5 separate regions of the Homo sapiens genome follow, and regions 1, 2, 3 and 4 are each linked to region 5. Evidence: promoter capture Hi-C in 16 types of primary human blood cells and fetal thymus (Javierre and others, 2016). All regions are on one chromosome and are shown on one strand. The core of a region is centred on a gene start or on the middle of the fragment in contact, and the rest is flanking DNA. Distances in the headings are between cores, read along the strand shown.

Region 1 (5,369 bases), core at 443-2,942, 630 kb before region 5:
AGAATCAGTTTAGAGGGGTAACAGCAGGCTCTAATCCCCATTTTGATCAATTTTAAGGATTACCAGGTGTTTGGGTGCTTGCTCTAAGAAAGCTCATGTTATTTAAAATCATCAAATGGAAAAAGAACAGGTTACAGCCTTTGATCTTTCAAAAAATATCAGGGTAACAAATTAGGTACTTGATATGCAAGTCCCACTTGACAAAAAGAAATATTATATTAAGACAGATACCCAAGCTGGAGTGCACTGGCATGATCTCGGCTCAATGCAACCTCTACCTCCTGGGTTCAAGTGATTCTTGTGCCTCAGCCTCCTGAGAAGCTGGGATTACAGGTGCCTACCACCACACTCAGCGAATTTTTTTGTATTTTTAGTAGAGATGGGGTTTCACCATGTTGGTCAGGCTGGTCTTGAACTTCTGACCTCAAGTGATCCACCCACCTCGGCCTCCCAAAGTGCTGCGATTCTTGTGCTTCTTAATCTAAAATATAGCTCACTGTAATGTCCTTTGGGTCACAAGGTTATCCCCCTCTGTGAAAATATATTACATATCCGGATTCAAAACATATTACAAGGTTGTTTACTGCAAAGAAAAAGATCAAAAATTATTTCAAAAGCCATGTATATTCCTTGTAACTTAAGGTAACATTTAAAAAATTATATAATTTGGGGGGTATATAGTATATCAAAATGAAGCATATGAATTATGCCTTGCGCCACTCATGACAAATAATATCACGTTTTCATTTATAAGTGGGAGCTAAATGATAAGAACACAGAGGGGAACAGCACACACTGGGGCCTATTGGAGGGTGGAGGGTGGGAGGAGGGAGTGGCTTAGGAAAAACAGCTAATGGGTACTAGGCTTCATACCTGGGTGACAAAATAATCTGTACAACAAACCCCCATGACACAAGTTTACCTATGTAACAAGTGTGCACATGTGCCTCTGAACTTTAAAAAGAAAAACATTTACTGCTGCAGTAGAGATTGTCACTGTACCTTCAGTAAAATTTCATGCCATTGGTGTAAGTGGTAAAGTGTCTATTTCATGCTTGTGCACTCTCTAGTTTGGAAGAAAAAGCTGACAACACTTTCTGCAAATGATTCAACCGGAGGTTTATACATCACATTGCAAGTATTCTAATGTTTTTGTGGAATCATACCAGATGCAGGAGCAAACATAGTTCCTAAGACTGGTTTAGGGAATGAGGCATGTACATATGGGTGCTATCTTGTATTTATAATTAGCTTTTCATTGATGCTTTTACACACCAAAGGTCATATGTGATAGGGGCACAGAAATAATACATCTTGAGTGTTGTAACAGAGGAATTGTGAGACAAGTCTTCACAATCATAGACGAGTGAAGTCCTAAAGAACAATGAAAAGTTACTATTTTGAAAGTTACTATTTTGGAGCTCTGTGCAGAATCATCATTTAAACACTTTGCTATTCCTTCTACATTTGGGATAACAATGTGACTAATTCCCGTGCCCCTTCAATGGTTTGCTATAGAATATTATCAGGATGCTTTTGGCTTCTAGTAAGTGAATCCCTGCTTGAACTCACAGCCAGAAGTGCAGAGGTTGGGTGTACACTTGGTTGATCCTGCTTCTCTGGACTCCCTTTCCTTCCATGTTCAATTTTAACTTCATCCATGTAGGGCTGGTTCCTTTCATCAGCGTCAATGCTTCCTAGTTGCTTTGAGATCCTTGTTTATGGTCAGTAGATATGAGGTGGGGTGGGACCCGGCCATCTACCACAACCATGGGAAATAAGGTTTCTCTTCAGTCTAATTGGGCCAATTCAGCACTGGGCCTGTGTCCTACCACCCCTCCCATTTTATGTTCCTGTGCGTGCTTCATGCTTAGATTAGCTCAGACAAATCATCAGGAGGACATGTAGTGACCACAAGAGGATTCCTTCACTGCTGATTTAAAATCCCATTCTTAGACATCATTTCATTAAGGTCTTTTTCCTTCATCTGAACCTTTTTAAAAATTTTTTTCTGAGACAGAGCCTCACTGTAGTGCCCAGTCTGGAGTGCAGTGGTGCGATCTTGACTCACTGCAGCCTCTACCTCCCAGGTTCAAGTGATCTTCCCATCTCAGCCTACTTAGTAGCTGGGACCACAGGCACATGCCACCACGCCCAGCTAATTTTTGTATTTTTTGTAGAGACAGCATTTCACCATGTTGCCCAGGCTGGTCTTGAACTCCTGAACTCAAGTGATCTGCCTGCCTCAGCTTCCCAAAGTGCTGAGATTATAGGCTTAGGCCACCAAGCCCAGCCTGAGCCCTTTTCTTATGCCAGGGTTTTAAATCTGGAGGTGGTAGCTAACGTAATGGCATAAAACAAGATTTGAGAGCTTTGTTTCTGCACTGATTCCCTGTGTTAAGCTGGGAGATTTGGGACAAGCCACCTTAGGCCTGTAAGTCTCAATTTCCTGAAATTATCTTAAAGGCTCCTTTCATACCAAAATGTTTGTGGCCTCATATTACAATGGGCTGAATTATGTCATCTTTCAGGTTGAGAATCTTTAAGTTAAGGGAAAACAATGTGGTTTGAAACCCTATTTCAAACTAGTTTTTATATAAACTACATCAGTAGACACACTCTTAAAAGACCTACACTTAAGCGAATTCCAAGTTAACCAGTGCTTTCCTTTCCCTCTATAAAATGTGCTGGCTTGGAAACAATTCAAACATTCACCAATTAGTAAATGGATAAATACATGTTGGTATATCCATGCAATGGAATATTATTCACCCATAAAAATAAATGAAGTACTGATAAATGCTACAATATGGATGAACCCTAAAAACATTGTGCTCAAAGAGGCCAGAAACAAAAGGCCACTTTCGTATGATTCCATTTATTTGAAACCCTCAGAATAGGCAAATTTATAGGGGCAGAAAGCAGATTCGTGGTTGTCAGGGCTGGTGGAGGAGGAATGGGGAGTGACTGCTAATGGACGTGGGAGTTTCTTTTGGGGGTGATTAAAAAATGCTCTAAAATTGATGGTTGCACAACTCTGTGACTATACTAGAAACCATTGAACTGTATACTTTAAATGAGTGAATTGTGTGGTTTGTAATTATAGCTGTTTTTAAAAATGAAAAAGAAATAGCCGGGCGCGGTGGCTCATGCCTGTAATCCCAGCACTTTGGGAGGCTGAGACGGGCGGATCACGAGGTCAGGAGATCGAGACCATCCTGGCTAACACGGTGAAACCCCGTCTCTACTAAAAATACAAAAATTAGCCAGGCATGTTGGCGTGCGCCTGTAGTCCCAGCTACACGGGAGGCTGAGGCAGGAGAATGGTGTGAACCCGGGAGGCGGAGCTTGCAGTGAGTCGAGATCGCGCCACTGCACTCCAGCCTGGGCGACAGAGCGAAACTCCGTCTCAAAAAAAAAAAAAAAAAAAAAAAGAAATAAAAACGTGCTGGTTGATCCCTACAGCCAGGAGGTCCCCATCCTCCTAGTTGAGCAGCCGGCTTAGCATGAGCCAGTAACGTAATTATTTTAATTAACCAAAACAACAGACAATGCAATGTAAATGCATAAGCCAAGTATATAAAGACTAATGAATGATAAGGAAGGCTTTGAAGGAGAATCCCAAAAAATGTTGCCATGAAACTGGAAGGGGTTTAGAAAATATCATAAAAATCAGAATAATTTTTCACTCACTGCTTTGTAGTCGTTTCTTAAATTTGCTGTTAAAAAAAAAAAAAGCCCTGGAACTGGAAGAATAGATGATGCACAGTGGATGTGGTTCATCCACTGTGCATTAGTAAGAAGGATGAAGTGGCACTGCTGACCCACCGCACCCAGAGATGCAAAAGGCCTTGGCTCCTTGTTGAAAGATTAGTAAATGATGTACATTTATGCTTTCAGGTAAAATGTAACATGTGATCATTTTATGATTTCTAGTTTCAGCTGGATTTTTTTAAAAGTATGATTTGACATTGTTCAGGCCAAGCATTGCCTTAGAACAGCATTTTGGATCTTGCTGCCTTTCCCCTTCCACCTCTCTCCCTTTTGTGGTTTCCCCAGCAAGATGCTTTTCAAGCTTTTGTGTACTATGTATCAGAATCCCCTAGAGGGCTTGTTAAAACGCAGATGGCTGGGCCCCCACCCAGAATTCCTGATCCTGTATGCCTGGGGCGGCTGAGAATTCTTGTTTCTAACGAGCTCCCAGGAGATGCTGATGCTGCTGGGCCAGGGGGCCCAATTTGAGCTTCACTTTCCTCTGGCATCTTTTGAATCCTTTGAGCTTCCATCCACCCCCATCTTTGTGATGCATTTACAGTTGCCTCATAGTCACATAGCCGTGGGTCGAAGTTCCCATGCAGAAGATGCAAAAGCAAATCTTAAATGTAAATGCCACTTCCCCAATTTTGCTTATTTTCCATTTCTTCTTTAAGTCCTCCTGCTCCCCTCACTTCTGAATGTTGCCTGATTACACCTTTGTTTTGCTTTAATAATGAAAAGCTTTCCTCTGAAAGTTCATTTCTTCATATGACTTCTGTAGGTGATGATAGTGGGGGCAGGAAGATAATGGGGTGAAGACAACAGCCTCCCAGACTGGGTAACAGAAGGTCCCTCTTAGTGTACGCTGCTTCTATGAGAATTGTTGTCTCAAAAGGAAAACGCTTTCTTGGTAGCACTCACTGGAGAAGGAAAGGTGCTCTGGGTGATTCCTGCTACTTGACCTTTGCTCAACACATTAGTTTGCTGTGGCTGCCATAACAAAGGGCCATAAATGTAGTGGCATAAGCAACAGAAATTTATTCTCTCACAGTTCTTGAGGACAGAAGTCCAAGATCAAGGTGTCAGCAGGGACATGCTCCCTCTGAAGGCTCTAGGGAAGGATCTGTTCCAGGCCTTTCTCCCAGCTTCTGGGATTTCTTTCACATCGGGCAGCATAACTCCAGTCTTCATATGGTGTTTTCTGCATGCACGTGTGTGTGTGTGTGTGTCTGTGTCTGTGTGTGTCTGTGTCTGTGCCCCAACATCCCCTTGATTTTTAGGACACCAGCCATATTGGATTAGGGCCCACCCTAATGACCTCATCTTAACTTGATCATCTGCAAAGACTCAATTTCCAAATAAGATCACATTCACAAGTACTGGGGGCTAGGACTTCCACATTTTTGAGGGGAACACAATTCAACACTTAACACTCACATTTTCAGAATGACTGTGAAGAAATTCATCCAGGGTCAGGCCAGCTCATTTATCTGGTACCTGTCACTGCTGAATTGCTCCACTTGTGCTCACTTGCACACTTTGCTGGGCCATGACATTGCAAACCAGTGTGGTTTGGCCCCTGTATTGGCAAAAGGGTGAACCCAGAAGGCTTC
Region 2 (5,279 bases), core at 2,006-4,505, 610 kb before region 5:
CAGAGCAGGTTTGTGACTCCCAGTATAGTGCTCTCTTGTCATTGGATACTAACACTATTTGGTTCTGGAAGGTTGTCTTCATACATATAGTAGGTTCAGCTTGTTTTCTTTAGAAATGTAACAGCAGTAATTGGGTGGCACCTCAGACTAGCAAATATGCAACCCAAATCCAGTATACATAAAGTTCCTAGGATGCTGGAGGGAAAAAGAATCAGCTGGGAATAGGAGTGGCTCCTCTGGGCATGCGTTTATTTCCCAGATATCTGAGACTTGGAGTGTGGCCTGCAGGGACCCTCCCAGCCAACGACTGGGCTCGCCATACCTTCCTCTTCCTAGAGTAGGCGTTCAGCAGGTACTCGGTAAATGCAGGTTGAATTACAGAAACATCAAATAAGGGAGAGACGAAGAGAAGGTCCGAAGAGCCCCACACCATGCCACATGCAACAAGAGGAGGGTCGCTTGTTTTGGCCAGCGCCTGCTGGCCAGGCTCCAGTTACCTTTCCCAAGCCTTGGTCCAGGAGAACTTTCCCTTGACTTTGACGACGACAAGTGGCCCACCAGCATAAACTGCCCTGGCACTCTGTAAAGCTTCTCCGAGCCCCCCGGGGCCGCGTCCTCTTGCATAGCCAGCAGGGAGCGCTCAGACAGCACTGGGGAGTTGTTGTCATAAGGGGAGATGTCTCCGCTGGAGGCCTTGTTGGAGTCTGTAGATGAATGCCTCCCTCCCACGGAAAAGGAAACTTCCGACTGCAGCATGTCAGGGCTTCTGGCACAATGAGACAATTACAGGTGCGTGAGTTTGTTAACAAGTAGTGACCAGATTTAAACAATATGGCTATTACACAAATGACTGGAGGAGTATGCGTGGACACGGGCTGAAACAAAAAGACCATTTTGAGCAATGTTCCAAGACATGTACATCCATGACGTGAAAGGGTTTCAACGATATGACCAGCAGAGGGCAGTAAAACCCAACAGATATAACAGGAAAAGGCAATGATGGAGAAGGCACGGTGAGAATGAAACCGACAAGGAGCCCTGCATTTGCCAATGGGCATCGCTAAGTGCCTCAGGGACTCATTCCTGCTTCCATTTTTAAGTGAAAGTCTGATGCTCACTATCTATTAGGTAAGGATACACTAGTAGATAACTCTTTCACTTTCCTCAATATCCTGCATTAAAAATAATTCAGATAAAACTATGGTTGACACTTTGCTTGAAGTTCATTATGGCTTTCTGGACAACTTTTCCATCCCACCAAAATACTTACTGTACTTAGTGTAAATAAATCCATCCTTCATGTGATAAAGATGTTGATGCCACCGGTGGGAATAAGTGTTTCATGTATAAAGTAGTGACAAAAACAATAAATATATGACCCTCACTAGACTCCATTTTATTCAAATACATCTAAAATGATTCTACAAGGCACTAGTGCTTTTACAAACTGATATGATGTACTAATTAGTATACCATTATCATAGTTCTGTGTTCATGAGTTGTCACAGAAACAGAAATAACAGTGAAAATGTATGTGGAACAGAAAAATGAGAACTTGAGCAACGTGAAAAGAGCATGGGAAGTCTTACCTGGAAACATCTTTCTTTTCTACCCTCCTCAAAACTGGCCCTGACAACATCTTGAAGGGAAACAATCACAGATTGATTAAAAGTTCCAGAACCTACATCTTTTCCCCCTTACTTCACTTCTCTTTACTAGTCTTTGCTCTCTTTTGGCTTAATTTTTCAAAACAAATCCTTTTTATTTCTTAAAGAAGGTAAACACATGCCTGAACAACACTTTCCTAACCAAATGGTTTTGTGCATGCAAACTGGAGGAAGTGCATTCACAGGGATCTAGCTTCCTCTGAGGTTTCCAGCAGGGGTTAATATCGCCGGGAAAAACATCCCAGCTTCTGTGATACTGCCACAGCCGTAACTGAGGCAAACACGGGCCTGAACCCTTTTGCTGAGGACATTTCCTACCAACATGGAATAAAGAAGCCCCTTCCTTGCCTCCTCTTTGAACTCTCATCACGTAATCTTATGGGAAGGAGCCAGAGGACTGCTATGAGGATGATTTTCCAGGTCTGCAAGATCTCATTGAGTGGTTGTGAAGTGCATCCCAGGGTGGCTGCATCTGTCTCACCTGGGAACTTGTTGGCAATGCCAATTCTACAGCTCCATTCTGGACCTACTGACAGGACTGGCTACACCATTTGTGGAGCCCAGTGCAAAATGAACATGTGATGCCCCGTGTTTAAAAAGCGTTAAGCATTTCAAGATGGCCACTGCAAATCAGTAAACCAAATGTGGGCTTCTTCTGAGTGTGGAGTCACAGCCCTGAAAGTCAGCTCTGCCTATTAAAAGGGAAACTCAGGGTGGGGCCAGCAAATTTTTTAAAGAATCCCTCCAGGTGATTCTGATGCACGGGGATGTTTGGGAACCTCTAATAACCAAACCTTATTTTCCTCTCTCAATCTGTAGATGTGACAGTGGGCTAAAGGTCTGCTAAGAGCCAAATCAGGAGGGAAACCAAAGATGGTAGCCAAAACTGCAGCATTGGCTGCCCTGGGAGTGAATGTGGTGGTCCTGACCTTGGGGTGACTGAGGCCACAGTTAGGAGAAGGAGGAAGGGTGTCCCCATCCCAGCCGATTCCTGGACCTCCTCTGTCTGCCTTAAGCAGGATCCAGACAACTGAATGTAGTGTAGTCCCATTGTGGATCAGAACATTTTGAAGTGAAAGGGGGGTAGGAAGTACCAGTGTAGTGTTCTCTGCTCTTCTGGTTCAGTCTCCTAAGTCAAGCCGGCAAAGTGACCACAGCTGGGCCCTCCATCAGGGAGGAAACAGTGGGGGTGGCTGAAGCGAATCCCTGGAGGTAGAGGTAGATGAGGTGTCTCATAGTAGACACAGGCTCTGAACCTCCTTGGGATGGCTGGGGTCACAGCCAGGGACATAGACAGAGGGGGCATCCAATGAGAGACGATGTCTTCTTTTCACAGTTTCCCCACCCCCCAGTGTATCCCAGCCATGGGAGGAGATACAGTGTGAGTACACATGGCAAGCAGTTTGGGAAATATACTTATGTGAAATATCCCCTTGGCCTGTGAGGAGAGTAAAAGTTAATATTTATACAGAGTTAATTATGTGGCAGGCACTGTACTAAGCTACTGTTAACAACTCTCCTTTTTCCTGACCTGAGTCTGGGATTGAGTGAAAGAAACAAGGAGCTGACTGAATGCTGAATACCATGCTCTCTAGCAGCAGAGGCAGTTAGGGTTGGGATTCTTCTAGAATTTATTTGGTAGATAGTGTTCAACATTATTACAAATCAGTAGTAAAATGCTCTTTCTTACTTAGAGTTAATAGCCTTTTAAAATGTTTAAAATATTTCCCTATCATTTTATTGTCTTAGCAGAGGTCAGGAAGTGGCAGCCAAATTTGCCTAAGAACCTATGTCCAAGAATTATCTTCTCACATGAAAGCACACCGATTAAAAAAAAAAGCTGTTTTATTCACTCCTCAGAACTCTCATAACAACATAGGCAGTTCATAGATTTTTTAAAAAAATAGTGTCATTCTATTGTTTTATATCTGTCAGAAGCAAATCCAGGATCAACATATATACACATACTCACATATACATACATACCCAACACACACGCACATACATATACATATTCAGACATAAACACATACATATACATGCATCAACATATGAACACATACATATACATGCATCAACATATGCACACATATACATATTCATAAACACATATACACACACACAAATATGACATAGACATGTACACATATACACAGACACATATTACATATACACATAAATGCAACTATATACACATGCATATACACATACACCCACTTAGGTGATACAATTGGAAGTAAAGACACAGAACAGAGAGAGAGTAGGATTGCTGAATGGAGGCTGGAGTCCGGAGAAATTTCCAGAGACTTGGAAGCAGAATTGTGAGGGCCTTTCAGAGCATGTCTCTCCTGTAATGGGGGCTGGGCATCCAGTCATTGTGGATACCTTCATTACACACCTGTGCTTCCTGTGTCTGTCCATTTTCCATTTTCCACTTCTAAATCTTTCTATTCTATCCCAGTTTCTGAAACATTTCTAAGTTTATGGAAGCTATTGTAAAAGCAGCTTGTCAAATTTATAAATCAGGTAAAATCTATAAAGTTCTGTAAGATTTTCCATATAAAAATCACAAATCAAAAAACAAATTCTTATAATCCAGAAATTCTGCAAGAAGACAGGGTGTGAATAAATCCGGGTGTAGTGTAGTGGAAATGTGGATGGTAAAAGTTTATAGGAAAGGAAATTTCTCTGACCCTGAAACCTAGAGATAAAAGTGAGAAAAGAAAGAAAAACTACCTTTCAGGCTACAACTGTCAGAGAAGTGGTTGTCTGCCAGGACCAGGGTGCCTGATGGTGGCTAAAACCCATCATTGTGAGTCAGCTCTGGGAGCTTCTTGAGTGGGCATTACCTTCCTACAAACCAGTTCCAATTGGCAGCACTCTAATTTCTGAACACTGGTGGAGAAATGGGCCCAGGAGGGGAGGTTTTAGTGATTTTCCACAGGACACTCAGTGTCAAATCTAGAAAACCATACCATCTTTTGGATATGTCCGAAAAATGAGATAAGCAACCACAATGTTTTCTCTCAGATTTGACTCTAGGATAATCCAACCCTAAGAAGATAGTTTTGAGTTCAGGGTCCCAAATAAAGGCATTAAAATACTCATGTATCTATTTACATGAAATTTTTACTCTGATCAGTGATTCACTAGATGAGGAATAGTCTAAAAGCACATAGTGACATCTCTTTGTATGTCTTGGAGTTTGATGGATTGAGGTTCAGAATGTTGGGTGAATGAGTTGCCAGTTGACATAAGTTGGCATCCAAAAGTGCCTGGTGGCTTCTCTTTCCAGTCTCAGAGCATCATGGATTGAGGTTGGGTGGACAGGTCACCAGTCTACATGGGTTTGCCTCCATGCATGGAGGGTTTCCCCGTTAGACCCCCAAACCCCAGGACCATCTACATACAGCATGCATGGCCAATCTCAGCTAACCAGACAAGCAAGGGATGGGCATGGAGAGCGAGTCACATTCTCACCCTTAGCTGGTCCCTCCAGGTCAGGGCGTAAACATGCTGGCAGGGTACTGTGGGCAGGCCTGCACTGCAGCCGGAAGCACAGAACTTGTTCTGGGGACAAATGGAAAACTCCGGTTCAATCACCGGATGGGG
Region 3 (5,188 bases), core at 286-2,785, 590 kb before region 5:
ACATCCCTTCCACCAGTTATTTTATGGAATCACTGCCTCCAGGTCTGTTCTGCCTTCCAGGACAAGCTCACAGCTACCTTTCCTAACAAGTCTTCCTTTCTAATGCTAATAGAAGTGACACCTCCCTTTCCGAGCTCTTAAACCCAAGGACTGTGAAACTGCACAATTACTAACTACTTTTAACCATCAGGCCCTGACTAGCTTCATCCTTCTTTGTTTGGAATTATAATAATTCTGAAAGCTTCTTTAAAAAGCCAAACAAAACAAAACAACATAGCGACATACAAGATTACATTTTTGTCCACCCATGCAGATCAGCTTTGCTGACAAACCACCAGCCTTGGTATAGCCGACTAGTTTCTCAACTGCCAAATATGCCAAGATAATCTAAAATGTGATGAGATTAATTTTCTCCTGTGCTTTATAAAAAGGAAGGAAGGGAAGTCAGTGCTAGGGCATAGCACCATGCAGATTTTACAACTAGAAGGGGTCTTGGCTATCATTCATTCAAATCTAGTATTTGATAACTAAAGAAATAGAAGAAGATGAGGTCATGTAGCCAATATATAACAGGGACAGGACGATAGTAAATTTTCTGGTTCCAGAGTCAGTTTCTTTTCATAGACCAAGACTTGAGATATTTGTCTCCCTCTTCCTCCCACTCCACTGTTATTTTTCTGAATATATGATTACCAGAATCCTTCTAAAGAGGTCAAGAATGATTACATTAATGGTTAACTTACTCCAAGAAAGGTATCCTTAATTTCTCCATGCCCAAATCTTTTCATACGTATAAGGAGTAAGGCTTGGTAATATGGAAATCATATGTCACAGAACAACCATTGAGTCATTCATTAATTCAACCAATATTTATTGTGTTCCTACCATGTCCCAGGCACAGGGGTAATGCAGTAAAGAAAGTACTATAGATAGAAATGGACCAAAAAAATCATCCTGTCATGTAGTTTACATTTCTAGGGAGTGGCGAACATAAACGAGAAATTTGTAAGACCCAATGTTAACAGTGGTGAGTGCTAAGGGGAAAAAGCAGGGAAAGGAAATAGGGAGTGATGATGTGTGTGTGTGTGTGATGGAGGGTGGAGGTGCATTTTAGACAAGGTGGCCAGGAAAGGCCTCTATGAGAAGTAAAGACTATAACTGGAGACCAAAAATATGAGAGAATGCCGACATCAATCCCTACAGAGAATGGCAAACAAAGATCAGATTTGGGAAAAGCTGGAAAAGGTAGAATACTGATGTTTTTATACTGTTCTTAGTAATTCAGGTGGCAGGAAATGGAAAGAAGAGGGATGGCACAATTAAAATGGCAGCAGCTATATTTTCAAAGAAGCCAGGAAAACTTTTGTTGGTATCTGAGTTGAAAAGAAATGCTCGATGATATGTGGTTTCATATAAAGGAGAACTTTGCTTAGATAATAGAATTAAGTTTGATGAGAAGTATTATTTTGTTAAAAAAATCCAGAGAACATGAAGTAATGCCAAGACTACTTGGCAAGATGATATGTGACTTAAACTTGATGAAAATGTTGAAAAGTTCAGACATTTGATTCATCCAAATATGTAGTTAATTATGAGGATTTAGGCTGATGTGTAAATTTTATATAGAGTCAATTATTAATTCAACATTTTTTGAGAGCTTAGCATGTGCAACCCAGGGACAGTGCTTCAGAGACACAAACAGGAACAAGATGCCATTCTACCTCAGTGAACTTTTCATTTGCTCTTCCTCCTGGGGATCCAACCAGGATACATTTTCAAGCCTCGCTTGAAGTTAAGTGTGGCTTGTGCATAAGTTCTGGCCAATGAGATTTGAGTGGACAAGATGGATGACCTTTCTGGGGTTGCCCGTAAAACTCTAAAAAATGTCAGAGCCTCAAAATACAAGGAGCTGGGATTCCTAAATCACCACCTGGAAGGCTGTCCACTTAACACCTGATTAAACTTTATGTCAGAGTGATATTTATGTTTGTGTTAAAGTACTGACTTTTGAGGCAGCACGTGTTACCCAACTAATATAATTACTAATTAACAGTTGCATAAACTGCTACAGTTTGCACAATACTTTCACGTATCAAATGATTCTGGTCACCACCCTGAGAATTACATCATCATTTTGTTTTTCCCATTTCTAAAGCTAGAATTGATGCATAATGAGTATTGAATTACTTGGTCACAATCACATAGGTAAGACACAGAGGGCAAATACTCTAAACTGCTGGGTCTCAAATTTACAAAAAGTAATTAGTATAAGACAAGCATGGACATAAATCTAATGCAAAGCACTTGATAAGTGTAGACAAACTACTAAAGAAATTTAAAAGAGGTAACTAGAATTCTCGGTTGAAGGAAGGAGCCACAAAAGGCTCTAGTGGAATAGGCAGGCTTTATAGCGTTTGCAAATTGACAAGAGAAATGGGAGAAAAAACATGAAGAAGGTTCCTGTAAATTTTGACATGCAATATTAGTGGTGAACAGAAATAGAAGAGAGTTGGCATTTGTTTTAATGTTTCAAGGGAAGTTGTAGCAAGCAATGCAGTTTGATGAAGGAAAACAGGAACTGGTAATTCAATACAAATCAAAAAAATATTTATTGAGTGCCTGCCAGATGGAGGGCTTTCCAAAAGTGTACAGAGGATATGGAGAGGAGATAACAATGGTGCAGTCCTTGTTTTAAATGCATTTATACTCTACTAGGGGAAATGGTCATAAATTACTATACACAATGTTGGGCAAGATAAACATCAGTAAGAACAGTAATGGAGTTCAGGGGACAGAGAAGTGGCATGGGAAGGACAAAGGAAGGAGAGGTGAAGCTTCATGTAGGAGGTAAAATGTCAAGATTGACCTTGGAGGAGGTGAAACCACTGAGGATGCTTATGAATACATGAATTCATGAGGGACACAATTCCATAAAGAAGGGTTTTATTAATGTCTTGAGCAAGGACACTGCTTTATAATTAAGTGACTCCAAAATGTGACCATGGTTTAGAGGACAACAAAATGAAAATTATAATTTGGCATGTTTGTTTAAACATGGAGTCACAAACTCAAAATGACATCATAGTTGTGCAAATTTCTACTCCTGCTGAAACTGCCTGACTTCCAATGAATTCAGTGAGCAGCACTGCACCCCAGAGGGTGGTCTACTAGAATTTCATCCTGCCTCCAGAGGAAACCAATAGGCAGTTTGCTGTGATGTCCTGCCACAGAAGGGCCACCTACCATGAACAGGGCTTCATAATTTTCAATCATCTTTTGCACAACAGCGATGATGGCCGTGCTCTCCTCAGCCCGGGCTGAACTCTGAACTGAGAATTCTTTGTCTGATGACTTCTGCTTGTGCAGCAGGTTGGGTCCAAATATGGTGGCTAAGTTTAGAGATGTCATTTTATTCCCAGTGACCTATAAGAGAACAGAACACAAGGACTGTTGTTATGTTTGCCTTTCAAGATACTGGGTGATTCAACAATCAATGAAACCTTTTACTCTCCTTTTTTTTTTTTAATCCTGCAAGGATGCCATCCTCTCTGTCAGAATCCATGGAGGGCATCATTATTTTCCTTTTGCTTTAATATCTTGGATTGAAGCTCACAGTTCAGTGATCATCTCAATAGCATATTGAATAAAAATTTGCAACTCTAAGTTGTTTATTGTAAAATGGGTACTACATAAAATTTCTATCCTGTTTGCACTTAAGAAATATTGACACCCATCCATCCATCTATCCATTTCTCCATCCATCCCTTCATTCATCAACCCATAATCTCACCACTGATCCATCCACTCAGCACCTATCATAGGCTGGGCATTTTTCATATATTGTAATTATTTTAAAATTTTTCCAATGATTACAACATAGTCCTTATTTTAAAGGTCTCTCATTCTAGGGAGGAAATAAACCTATCACTTACAGGTAATGAGTACAAAGTATAAAGCTCTCAACTCCAAAGGCCCCAGGGTCACTACCACAGAGGCGGAAGCATTTGCACAAACTCTCAAAAGAAGAATAGAGTTTGCTAGGCTGAAAAGCAAAGGATCTGGGCTAGGGGGTAATTTTACAATGGAGAAAGCACCACACATGCAAAGACAGAAACATCTAAAATACGTCATGGAGCCCCAGGAAGCTCAGTGTGGTAGGGAGTTCTGCAGGAAAGGCAGGCAAGGGCCAGGTGAGATGATCTTCATGTGTCAGACCAAGGAATTCAAACTGTGATCTAAGGGCAAGAGGATTCTGAACAGAGCAGAATGGAAATGGAATCTGCATTTCAGGAAGAGCAATCTATGGAACAGGGGATGGGGGATGCAAGGAAGTAGGACTACCTGGGACATACCACAACAGTCTAGGCCACAGCAGCTAGCATCTGAACTAGGAAGGAAGAAGTAGGGATGAAGAGCAGCTTCCAAAGTTACGGAGGGGGTGAAGAGGATAATGCAGAGGGTAAGGATCTTGTGTTTTAACAAATGAAAAAATGGAAGGACAGTTAAGTGAGGAACATGAAGGGCTGAAAAGGGGTTCCTGGAGACTCCAGCACCCTTAAGGAGCAGCTGATGAAGGAGGCCAATAATGGGTGAGAAGTTACCATAAAAGAAACCTGTGTCCAAGAAGAAATGACAGGGGAGTTTCAAGTGAGTTATCAACTGTGGCAGAGGGTCATCGAGATGTGACCCTTCCCTCCAGAATGGACTCTCTGATGGTTCTGATGTCCCAGCTAAGAGTCATGTCAGTGGTGTGGCAGGAATGAGCCACAGTTGCAGAAGTGGAAACAGTGAATGTAGACACTTTCTTCAAAAGATATCACAGAGAAGGAGGAAGAAGAAATGTAGGAGGAGCTAAAGGGGAGTACGGGGTGAAGGAAGGGAACTATTTTTTGCTTGAAGCATAAAAAATTATTCACATTCAATATATTAATAATTAGAAAGCACAGGTAAGCCAAAAGAAAAAAAAATGCCCATAATTTCACCACTGCCAAGAATCAGCCATTCCTATGCCTTCCTGTGCACATATATACATGTACACCTGATATTTTCTTCTTTAAAACTGGGATCACATCCATATATTATTTTGTAACTTGCTTACTATCTCTTAACAACATGCTACAATAATCTTTCCACTACAAAAAAAAAAAAAATCCTGTCTTCAGGCTTCATTGGCCCCTAGAATCCCACT
Region 4 (4,832 bases), core at 167-2,666, 660 kb before region 5:
TTGCGGGCATGAGCCACCACACCCGGCTGCTGATGACACTTTATTGGCAATCTTGGGAAGGGAAAAAAGACCAAGTAGAAGTAGCAACGGGACCCCTAACATTGATATTGCCTGATGACTGGGCTGGCCAAAGTCTGGTGCCAGGACCCCTATCCTACCAGTGGTTCCAGACACCACCGAGGGAATCTGGAAGGAGAAATAAAGCCCACAACACGCCACCAAGTGGCTGCAATATTACTCTTGCAGTGAAGATACTTTTTTTTTCCTCCTTTGTTTCCATAGGGTACTTTTCTAAACCTGTCCAAAGTCCCTCTCACTAGATTCCTTAACTGTCACTTAAAGTGTTATCTATGACTCAGAATTTCCTAACATAAATTCTATAACCTCCCTCCTTTCCTCAGGAAAGTTACCAACTGAGGCCTACTCACACCAAAACTCTGATCCTAGTGGCTGTGAGATGTCTGAATGCTGTTTAAACTGTGCACTTACATGTGTTTGCAGGTAGTGATAAATAAGAACTCTTCTTTGTTGTCGTGCTTATTCACAGTTTAACTTGGCTTCCTCTGCTTCAGACAGAAGGGAACTGAAGTAAATTCTTAAGACACACAAGGAAAGAAAGTTCTTTGCGCTGAAGGCGGTTCGCCAAGGTGCTAATTCCATCTTTGGTAGGTTTCTCCCAGGACTGTGTTCCTCATCCAGGAATTTCCCTGAGCTTGATGGGTCACACGTCCAAATTCCAGCTTTGAATAAATAAACCAACTAAAGTGCTCAGTTGCCTCAGGGATTAGCAGAGCAGTTCACGAACTTCCATCGCCCCCCAGTGGCAATTAGTTGGATCTTTTTGTTAGGGATTTTCTTATGCTTAAAATTTAGGTTATCGTTCTCCCCTCCAAAGTTGTTTTAAGTTTTTGTTTGTTTGTTTGTTTAATTCTCACACTGAAGATTATAAAGTCTTTGTGTGGAGGTATGTTGGTAATGTCAAATTAATGGCTTCTGGGTCACCAGGTCATAGACGGATAAGATGTAGTATCTGCTTTCATGGTTCTAAGTAAAAGACTGATTTTCAACCTGGTCTCTATTCTGAGGCTCCATCCTGAGAGAAGGTGAAAATAAGCAGCACTAAATCACTAAATCCAGAAAGGACTCTCAGTGGGTGGCATCAAGGTAACCTAGAGAGCCAGTTAGCCTTGGTTGCATATAGATGAGAACTCAGCCACCCACAGTGATAGTATCTACTCTGAAAACAAGATATAGGCTATGTGAGATTCCAAAAATAAAAAGCAGAAACTGTGTTGAGGGAGAAAGCTTATATACATATGAAGTAGCCAAGAAACACTTTTCTAGCATAATAAATTCATAAATTCATGCAACATACAGTCAATGATTTTTGATAGCTAGCATAAAGTACTTCACCTTGTTTTATAGAAAAAGAAGAAGTGGAATTTAGGAAAGTTTAGACTGAAGAGGCTTATCTTCAACTCAAAAAAGGGAAGGTTCTTGCCTCCCTGCCCACAGTGGAGTTAGTACTTAAGCTTATTTTTCAGATCATAGTAAATTCCTTTGGTTCACCACCTGCCATGCTCCACCCCCACACCCCTTTTAAATTTAAAACCAGGTTTGTAGTCCTTTAAATAATACTGACCCAGTTCTAAATTCCTACACACCAAACAGTCCTGCCAATGCTAAATCCTGAGTAGAAGTGTTTGTCCTTCAGCTTCCTTTACTCAGAATTTGTCTCCTTTCCAGCCAGAACATTCTCCTTCCCTGGCCACCCCTCTCCCCTTGGCTTTGGAAGGCAAACTTTACCTAATCTGTTTTGTTTAAGAATCCTAAATCTTAGTGGTTTAAGGGCCTCAGTATTAGTACACACAAGCACACATATATAAATTTAAGAACAAAGAATGTTTTATTATCAGCTCATTGTATTTTGTATAATATTTGTTTAATAAATTCACCCTTAAAGTATAAGCCTCTGTCAGTTAGGCCTGGCCTCCCCATCTCCTGGACCCCAAGGTCTTATTCACTTGAATCTCCCAGTCCATGGTCCATGGAATATCAAGTTTCCCTGAGTTATATGTTACTCCTCAGGGACTTAGGCTCCTATGGTCACTTCTGCCTCTGGACTCCTCTCTCTGCTTGTGCTGGCTCAGTTTACATTGACCTAGAGGGGAAACTCTGCCCCTTTATCATCTTCTATGAAAACCCATTCACTAAATTACTTGCTGATTTTGTAAAACACTCATAACAAAATAGAGATATATGGATACTTCTTAAACATGACAAAAAACTTTATGCCAATCTAAAAGTTCGCAAAATGCTTAATGGATAGACACTAGACACTTTTCCACAAAAATTAGGAATGTCTACTGCCACTTTTATTTAACGTTTTGCTGGAAAGTCTTAGCCTATGCAGGAGAAAGAAATTAGAGGCATGAGGCCAGGCGCAGGGGCTCACGCCTGTAATCCCAGCACTTTGAGAGGCCGAGGTGGGCGGATCGCCTGAGGTCAGGAGTTTGAGACCAGCCTGGCCAACATGGTGAAACCCCATCTCTACTGAAAAAAAAAAAAAAAATACAAAAATTAGCCGGGCATGGTGGCAGGTGCCTGTAATCCTACCTACTTGGGAGGCTGAGGTAGGAGGATCACTTGAACTTGGGAGGTGGAGGTTGCAGCGAGCCGAGATCATGCCATTGCACTCCAGCCTGGGCAACAAGAGCGAGACTTCGTCTCAAAAAAAAAAAAAAAAAAACAAAAGAAATTAGAGGCATTAAAGTTGGACGGGAGGAAGTAAAATCATTATTAGTTGAGATTATATGAAATAATCCCTGGAAAATCCAAAATAAACACACAAACATTAAGACTAAAGACAAGAGAATCCAAAACATAGGAGAGTATAAAATGGATGTAGTCATTGGAGCTTGTCTTTAGTCCATTTTGTGTTACTACAACAAAATACCTGAGGCTGGGTAGTTTATAAAGAAAAGAGGTTTGTTTGGCTTAGAGTTCTATAGGCTGTTCAAGAAGCATGGAACCGGCATCTTCTCAGCTTCTGGTGAGGGCTTTCATGTTGAGTCAGCAGAGAAAGTCAAAGGCAAACCAGGCACATGTGAAGAGAGAGTAAACATGAGGGGGATCCTCACTTTGTAACAATCCTGCTCTTGCCGGAACCAATCCATTCCCGAGAATTAATCCAGTCTTGTGAGAGTGAGAACCCACTACCATTAGAAAGTCACCAAGTCATTCATGAAGGATTTACCCCATGACCCAGACATCTTCCATTAGGCCCCAGCTCCCAGCACTGCCACACTGCAGATCAAATTTCAAAATTAGCTTTGATGGGGACAAACAAGTCATATTCATACCATAGCACAGCTATACCTTATTCCTTTCACCAGGATAAGTTTCAAATATATAAATGGTTTAAAGGAAAAAGTGTAATTTTTTTAATTGAAGAAACTTGGGAGAATTTAGGACTTAAAATATTTTTAATTATGCCACAACATCCAGAAATCATAGAAGATTATAAAATTAAGATCCATAAAAACTACTCAAAGCAAAACTTAGCAGAAGCAAAAACAAAAAAAGATAATTTTAGAAAATATTCCAACCTCATAGTGTAGAAGAAAGGTTAATTTCCTTATAAAGAATGTCTACAAATCAATTTTTAAAAAAAGCAATACACTGTGTTGATGAAGGTGTGGAAAAACAGGCACTCTCATCCACTCCTGAGGGAAGCTACAAGGGGTACAACCACCTATCTCGGGTCATTTAGAAGTGACTATCAAAGTTTTAAAAGCACATTCCCTTTGACCCAGTCATTTTAATTCTAGGTATTACAAAGATATGCTCACACAGTGTGAGAAATGATGTAAGCACAATATTACTCATTGTAGTATTGTCGTAATAGGAAAGTATTGGATATAACATCAATTTAGTTGATTAGTAAGGGACCAGTTACATAAACTGTATTAATCTATATGATGGAATAGTGTACATGTCCTAAATAAAAACAAAATGGAACACTGTATGTACTGATATGAAAATTTACATTTTAATTCTTGAATCTGTTAAATAAAAAGAAAGATGGATATGGAAAACCTCCAAGATATTTTAGGTGAAGAACAACAGTTAAATCCCTATATAAAGTATGCTACTACTTGTGTTTTAAAAATGGGGTCCCTCAAAGCACATTTCTTGGAAAACTGCATTTCATGTGGTGGTGGTAGAGGATGGTTTGTCAACTTGTCTTTTGCGGGTTTAATCTTTCAATCCCACTTTACAATGAGTCCAAACCACTCAAAGAGCCTTCCCTTCCTTCCTTTAAAGCTACTCATGCCTTGCCTTATTGATTTTCCTTCCATTACTCCTATTTTCTCCAAGTCATTAATTCACAATGTTTAGAATAAAAAAATAAGACTGCCAAGGAGGAAGAAATTTAGGTTGGCTAGTGATGCATTCTCTTCCTAATAGGAAAGCCAAACTAAAGTCGCAAAGTTCTTTGGTAAATTTGGAATGAGAGCAAAGAAAACCAAAGCCTTGAAGGATTTTACCATCCATTCTTATGTCTTAACATCCAACCAAACCTGATAATTTACATTTCTTTATCTGCAACCAGCTCTTTCCTGAGTTCTAATTCTGTGTTCTGAACCGCTTCTGGGATTTCACTGCCTAGATAACCATTATCATCTCAAGTGCAATGTGTCTAACCTGAACTCATCTTGCCCCTAACCCTAAATATTTCTCAAAATCAGCAGCCATTTTTTTACTCCTGTCTTCTTATTTACTTCACCTTAGCTTTCTCTTTATGCAGTAAGGTGGTAATTTCAAACAAC
Region 5 (5,259 bases), core at 2,760-5,259:
AACCAAGAAGCAGTGAAAGTCAACTCCACTTGACCTGAGAAGCACCAACAAGGATTAAGGATTAAGAAGCATTGCAACTTTTGTAAAAGGATCACTATAACTTTTATCAGAATATTCATTAACCACAAAATTATTCTTAGGATGTAGGTCTGCATATCACCTAAGACCAAAAGAAGAAAAAAAAATCCAATTGTAAGGTCATCCAGTTCTAAGGTCAAAGTTGTAAGATCATAGATTGTTCTTAACTTTATAAATGGGTTGTTCCAGAAATTCATTTAAAGTTTGTTTCTAACCTAAAAGAGACATTCTAGTTGAAACCGTATCATAAATGGTAACTAGGTTTACCCTTCATTCCCAAAGCCTACTGAATACTGAATACATGTGAAACAATATTTCAAATGCAACATCAATTATGTCTACATGTCCATGGAAAAATGCATTCTCACCATCAGAGGTCTGTCTCATCAGTATCACCAAAATTAGCAATAGACAACATACCAGATGCCAATAACCTAACTCTACAACTGCAGGAGGGGCGTGATCAGGATGCTTTTGCTGCATGGAGGTTTATTATGTCACAGAGCAAGAAGTTTGGCGTTAGGCATCAGGATTAGTTAATTTAGTGCGTCAGGGGCTCAACAGCTCCCCAGTGACCCAGGTGAGCGAGTGCTAGCCTTGGGCTCTCATCCTCAGAGCCTCAGTGACGATGGCCAGCTCCGTGGTGCCAAGGTGGCTACAGCACTGACACCCTCTCCAACGCCGCATTCTGATGCAGATGATAACACCCAGTGAGGAAGAGGAGACTTTATGCCAGATGTATTTCTTTTGGGGGGAGGCAGGTGGAAAATATTTTCCAGAAGTACTCACAGTTCCCCATTTTAACTCGCTATGAGAATTTCTCATTGGCCAGGCGTGTATCACATGACCATACTTAAACCAGTCACTGTAAGAGGAAGGGGATTGCCGGGATTGGTTTAGACCAGTAGTTCTCAGCCCCGCCTGCACAATGGAATCGCCTGGGAACTTTGGAAACAAAATTCCAACTCCTGGCAACAGTATTTTAACAAGTTTTCAAAGTTCCCCAGCTGTTCCAAATGTATACCCAGAGGTGAGTCCTACCGTATTAGCCCGATCAAGTGTCACTCCAGCCCTGGTGAGAGGTCTGCTCTAACAATGTGGGATGGCAAACACCTGAACAAAATTGGGCCTCTGCCAGCGGGGCGGCGGGCGACGCAACTAACTGGATCCCGCACTGCACTCACCTTGCTAAGAGAAGCAATTCCTGTAGGTGACCTATAATGAGAAATCAAAAAGATTTGTTATAAGATTTAATGGTTATCTTAATCCCGACAAAAACAAGACCATTCTATAATCATGCCCGAATACAGACGAAACTACTGTCCAAACCTCAAAAACTGGAAAATGAGGAAAACACCTAAGTTGCAATTCAAGAGTGCCTTCCTCTCTGGAGCTTTTTCAGATACTCTCCCTCCTCCTAGAGAGAAGTAAGCTCTTCTGTCTCCTCTATTCCACACCAGCTTTATCAGGGTATGCACATAAAGCTTGAACTTGATTGCTTGCTGCTCCGCCCTCCTGAAATGTGCCCTCTGGGAGGACAGGGGTAATGTATGTATTCTACTTTGTGTGTCTAGCAACCAGCACACAGGAGGTCCAATAAATATTTGCTGAATGAATGAATGAATGAATGGGGGACACGGAGAAACAGATAAGAAATGCCTAATGTCAAGAGCAAATATTTACCCAGCCCTTATATGTCAGGCACTACACAAAGCCATGTACACTGAATTGACTCATTGACTCCTAAAAAACCCTATGAAGTAGGAGCCACTATTTCCTTCATTTTAAACATGAACAAAGTGCATTACAAAGAGACTAACCAGTTGTCCATGGTCACAAGCTAGAAAGTGACAAGCATGGGACTGGGTCCTGGAGAGTGGTTTGCAGAGCTGGCCATGTTCTTAACCTTTACACCCGAGAGGAAAAATGATGTCCTGCATTAAGGGTGGAGCCCTCTCTAGTGGATCCTAATCTGGAGGAGGACTGTAAGGGGTGCTGCCATTGGCAGGCTTTTTAACTTTTAGGTTCCTGAAGGCTTTTGCATTCTTGGACTTTTTAGAGGGACGGGGAAAGAGGAATTCCTCAATGACATAAGAAGGGGTGGAAATGCGGAGAAACAAAGGAAAGCATCTAAAATCCTATCCCTGAAAGGGTAGAGCCTGCAGCAGAACTCTCTCCAATCATGGGCAGGAAAAATAAAAAGGTGAATACTTCAGTTACGGTTTACACAGGACGTGCAATTACATGTGCTTCCAAGCCGCCCCTGCCATTTGTGGGGAACACCACCATCTACTGTTCTCATCTCTGATACACCACAACCTGGAGAGGAATCATGGTTCCAGTTCTAGTTTCTGCACCGTATTACCCCAAAGGCCATTTGACCATCTTCCCCCAACCTTTAACTCCTCTGTATAGCCTTATTCTGGCGGATGCAGCTATTACTCACCCAATTCCTTGGGCCAGAAAACCTGGAAGTCTCTCAAGATTCCTCCTTCCCTCTCCTTCACATCCAATTGGCCACTGAGTTTTGTGGGTTCTATTTCCTAAATCAATCTGTTCATTCATTCCATATTATGTGCCACGAATACGCCGTGATGAATTGGATAAGACCCCTACCCCCAGCTTCAAAGAGCTTACTGTCTTAATGAGGTCATTTTGCAAATGAACAACCCATTCTATAGCACAGTGGTACATGCAAGAAAGGGGTTAAGCAGAGTCCTGGGAGGGAACACCTCAGGGCTTTATGATTCATCTTGGGAAGCCTGAGGGCTTTTCTGTTGGCATGCCCACGCTGAAATGTGAAGGATGTATACCAGGAACCTGGTGAAGGAAGCGTGCAGAGGGGAAGCAAATGCAACTTTCTGGAGGCTAGAACAGAGAAGGGGAAGTTCACCAGGTCCGCAGAGATTAGCCTGGAAGCTGGTCTCCAGCCCGGTCCTAATCCAGTAATTACACTGCCCAACGGCTTTCCAAAACTCAAAAGAAAAAGCCCAGCACTGTCCTTCCTGTCCCTGGAAGTTTGTCCTTCAAGTCTCCCATCACTTGTCATTCGCTCATCAAGTATTTACTTAACATCCACTCTGTGCAGGTACCATATTGATAGCGGCCTCAAGGGTGCTTCTATTTAGGGAATTTTTAGTCTATTGGAGCAGATAGACCGTGGGGGGCATTCCGGGGATGCTGGGGGCTGTCAGGCCACGCTAGAAGCTGACACTGAAGACGTCAGCTACTCTTTAAGGACCCATCTGCCTCGCTGCCCACTGCTCAACCCGTCACTGGGGGCTCCAGGCCTGCCACCGGCTTGTCCTCTGAAGGGATAAGCAAGTGTTCTATTCACAGCCCGGAGTGCCCTTCTGCCCTCGCCCGAGGCCACTGCCCGCCTGGGGCCAGCTCCAGCGCTGCGTTCTCCAAGCGTGGCCACACTCATCGGCGCGCTGCTCTGCCAAGGGGGCTGACGCGGCGCGCACGGCCAGGGAGCTCTTGGGGGCAGACGCCGTCCAGCCTCCCGGCCGCCGGGTGCCTACTCCAGACCGGCTCTCTCTCTCCCTAGGCGCCTCCCACGCCCGGGCCGGAGAGCGGGCGCTCGGGGCGACGGACGACCCTGCGCGCACGTGGGCGCAGCCTGGAGGCCGCGGGGACCCTCTCCCATGGGGGCGACGGGAGACGTCCTGCCGGTAGACCTTGGCCAGGGGGTCGCGCTCCCCGCCCGCACCCCTCCCGGAGCCCCGGCGGGGACGTGCGGGGACGCGCCCGGGCGGGAGCGCGCGCGCCAGGCGCCTCCGAGGTCCCGGCAGCGGCTCGGGGCGGGCGGAGGAGGGGCCGAGGGCGGGGCGGCCGCAGCCTCCGCCATTCCCGGCCCCCCCCGGCCACGGCGCACCGCCTCCCCGCCCCCGCCCGCCCTCCCCCACCGCGCGCGCTCCGCCCGCCCCGGAGCCTCGCCCTCCGCCACGATGAGCAAATGAGCGCGAGCGAGGGCATGAAATTTAAATTCCACTCAGGGGAGAAAGTGCTGTGCTTCGAGCCTGACCCCACCAAGGCGCGAGTGCTGTACGATGCCAAGGTGCCGCCGCGGAGGGACAGGGAGGAGGCGCGGGCTGGGGGACCCGGGACCGGGGGCGGGGGCGGGGGCGGACGGCCGCGCGGAGCTGAGGGACCGGCCGGGCTCCTCGGCCTGCGAGGAGCGGTGCGGCCGGCAGGGGGCGCTCACAGGGCGCTACGCCCGGGAGTCGGGGCGGGGTCTGGGATGCTTCCACTTCCTTCCGTCAGGCCGGGCGGCGCACGCGCGGTTGGGAGCCTCGCCCATGCTTTGTCGCGTTACCGGGGCTACCGTTTGCGCCCCCGACTGCAACGGTGGCCGCTGAGGGAGGAGGCTTCTCGAATACGGTTTCTGTCTTCGCGTTAAATGTCTCCTTCTGTGCGGCCTGGTGCCGGGTGGGCTCCTGTGGGACGCCCTGGCCGTCCGATCCAGGTTCTAATTCATAGTTACACGGCGCTGGCCGCTGACTTGCGACGTTGTGTCCCTGGGACCCTAGTCCAGTTTAGGCCCCATCCCGCCTGTAGGCCGTGAACCCCATCCCGAGGGCAAGGTTGGCCCAGTGTTTTCGTACCCCAGGGCCTTGCAGCATTTACGTTTTCAAACTCTGAAGGATTTACGTGGGTCTGACCATAGTTGATGGGAATCGCGCCCCGGGCCGGTCCACCTAAGTCTCCGGGAGCTGAGCCACATCTTGCAGCTCCTCAGATTTGGGTGGCGGGCAGGAGTTGGCACCAGGTCTCCCAGATCCCCAAGGAAAGCACCCAGGTGCTTTCATTTCAGAGACCTGGGTTCCTAGGGCCACCTGGGCGAAGCCTTAGGCGGCAGGGACAGGGGCAGTCCCAGGTGTGTCTTTGGCGATGTCTGGACAGCTCTGTCCATTAGAGATGCTAAAGGACATCCCTAAAGGGATGAGCATATTCTGCCTTCAGTTCCCTCCCCTGCTGCTCCTGTCTTTTAACCGCGTCTGCTATCCCTCTTTCTCCTCGCCCTCCAGCCTCCTCGGGGCGGAGGGGGGGGGGCACGCCCCATCATTAGTTTTAGTTGTTCCCTCTAGGGACACAACAGGGAGGGATTCCAGAGTCTCCAGCTAGCCATCCTGGCACTGGACATAGGGGAGCCCAGGAGACTACAACTCCCAGAGCTCT

Evidence for each region. Contacts are between HindIII fragments. The CHiCAGO score rates a contact against its expected background, and 5 or more counts as called.
Region 1: a contact is called between a fragment that was not itself captured here and the fragment with the promoter of MSL3 in region 5, in 6 of 17 cell types (monocytes, M0 macrophages, M2 macrophages and 3 more). The highest score is 9.6, in monocytes.
Region 2: a contact is called between a fragment that was not itself captured here and the fragment with the promoter of MSL3 in region 5, in 10 of 17 cell types (neutrophils, total B cells, M2 macrophages and 7 more). The highest score is 16.8, in neutrophils.
Region 3: a fragment that was not itself captured here is called in contact with the fragment with the promoter of MSL3 in region 5 in 1 of 17 cell types (M0 macrophages); the score reaches 5.6 in M0 macrophages.
Region 4: a fragment that was not itself captured here is called in contact with the fragment with the promoter of MSL3 in region 5 in 2 of 17 cell types (neutrophils and M2 macrophages); the score reaches 6.8 in neutrophils.

What each region holds. Positions count from the first base shown.
Region 1 is chrX:11,125,577-11,130,945 of GRCh38, forward strand. No RefSeq gene overlaps it. Among named protein-coding and RNA genes, the nearest start is that of HCCS, 17 kb to the left of the region's middle. The HindIII fragment of the contact is 4,762 bases long and covers 1-4,073 here.
Region 2 is chrX:11,143,483-11,148,761 of GRCh38, forward strand. It overlaps ARHGAP6 (Rho GTPase activating protein 6), which reads right to left. Exons shown (of 13, transcript NM_013427.3): 11 at 498-766. Among named protein-coding and RNA genes, the nearest start is that of HCCS, 35 kb to the left of the region's middle. The HindIII fragment of the contact is 5,339 bases long and covers 587-5,279 here.
Region 3 is chrX:11,166,262-11,171,449 of GRCh38, forward strand. It overlaps ARHGAP6 (Rho GTPase activating protein 6), which reads right to left. Exons shown (of 13, transcript NM_013427.3): 9 at 3,244-3,423. Among named protein-coding and RNA genes, the nearest start is that of HCCS, 58 kb to the left of the region's middle. The HindIII fragment of the contact is 2,593 bases long and covers 240-2,832 here.
Region 4 is chrX:11,100,142-11,104,973 of GRCh38, forward strand. The region is part of intron 2 of HCCS-DT (HCCS divergent transcript); the gene reads right to left. Among named protein-coding and RNA genes, the nearest start is that of HCCS-DT, 8.6 kb to the right of the region's middle. RefSeq lists an enhancer at 2,963-3,162. The HindIII fragment of the contact is 227 bases long and covers 1,304-1,530 here.
Region 5 is chrX:11,754,228-11,759,486 of GRCh38, forward strand. MSL3 (MSL complex subunit 3) reads left to right here and starts at 4,010. Exons shown (of 13, transcript NM_078629.4): 1 at 4,010-4,138. The coding sequence starts at 4,037. It overlaps MSL3-DT (MSL3 divergent transcript), which reads right to left and starts at 3,856. Exons shown (of 2, transcript XR_007068393.1): 1 at 2,525-3,856; 2 at 1-1,293. RefSeq lists silencers at 3,550-3,749, 3,770-3,919, 3,930-4,309 and an enhancer at 4,163-4,457. The HindIII fragment of the contact is 7,532 bases long and covers 1,561-5,259 here.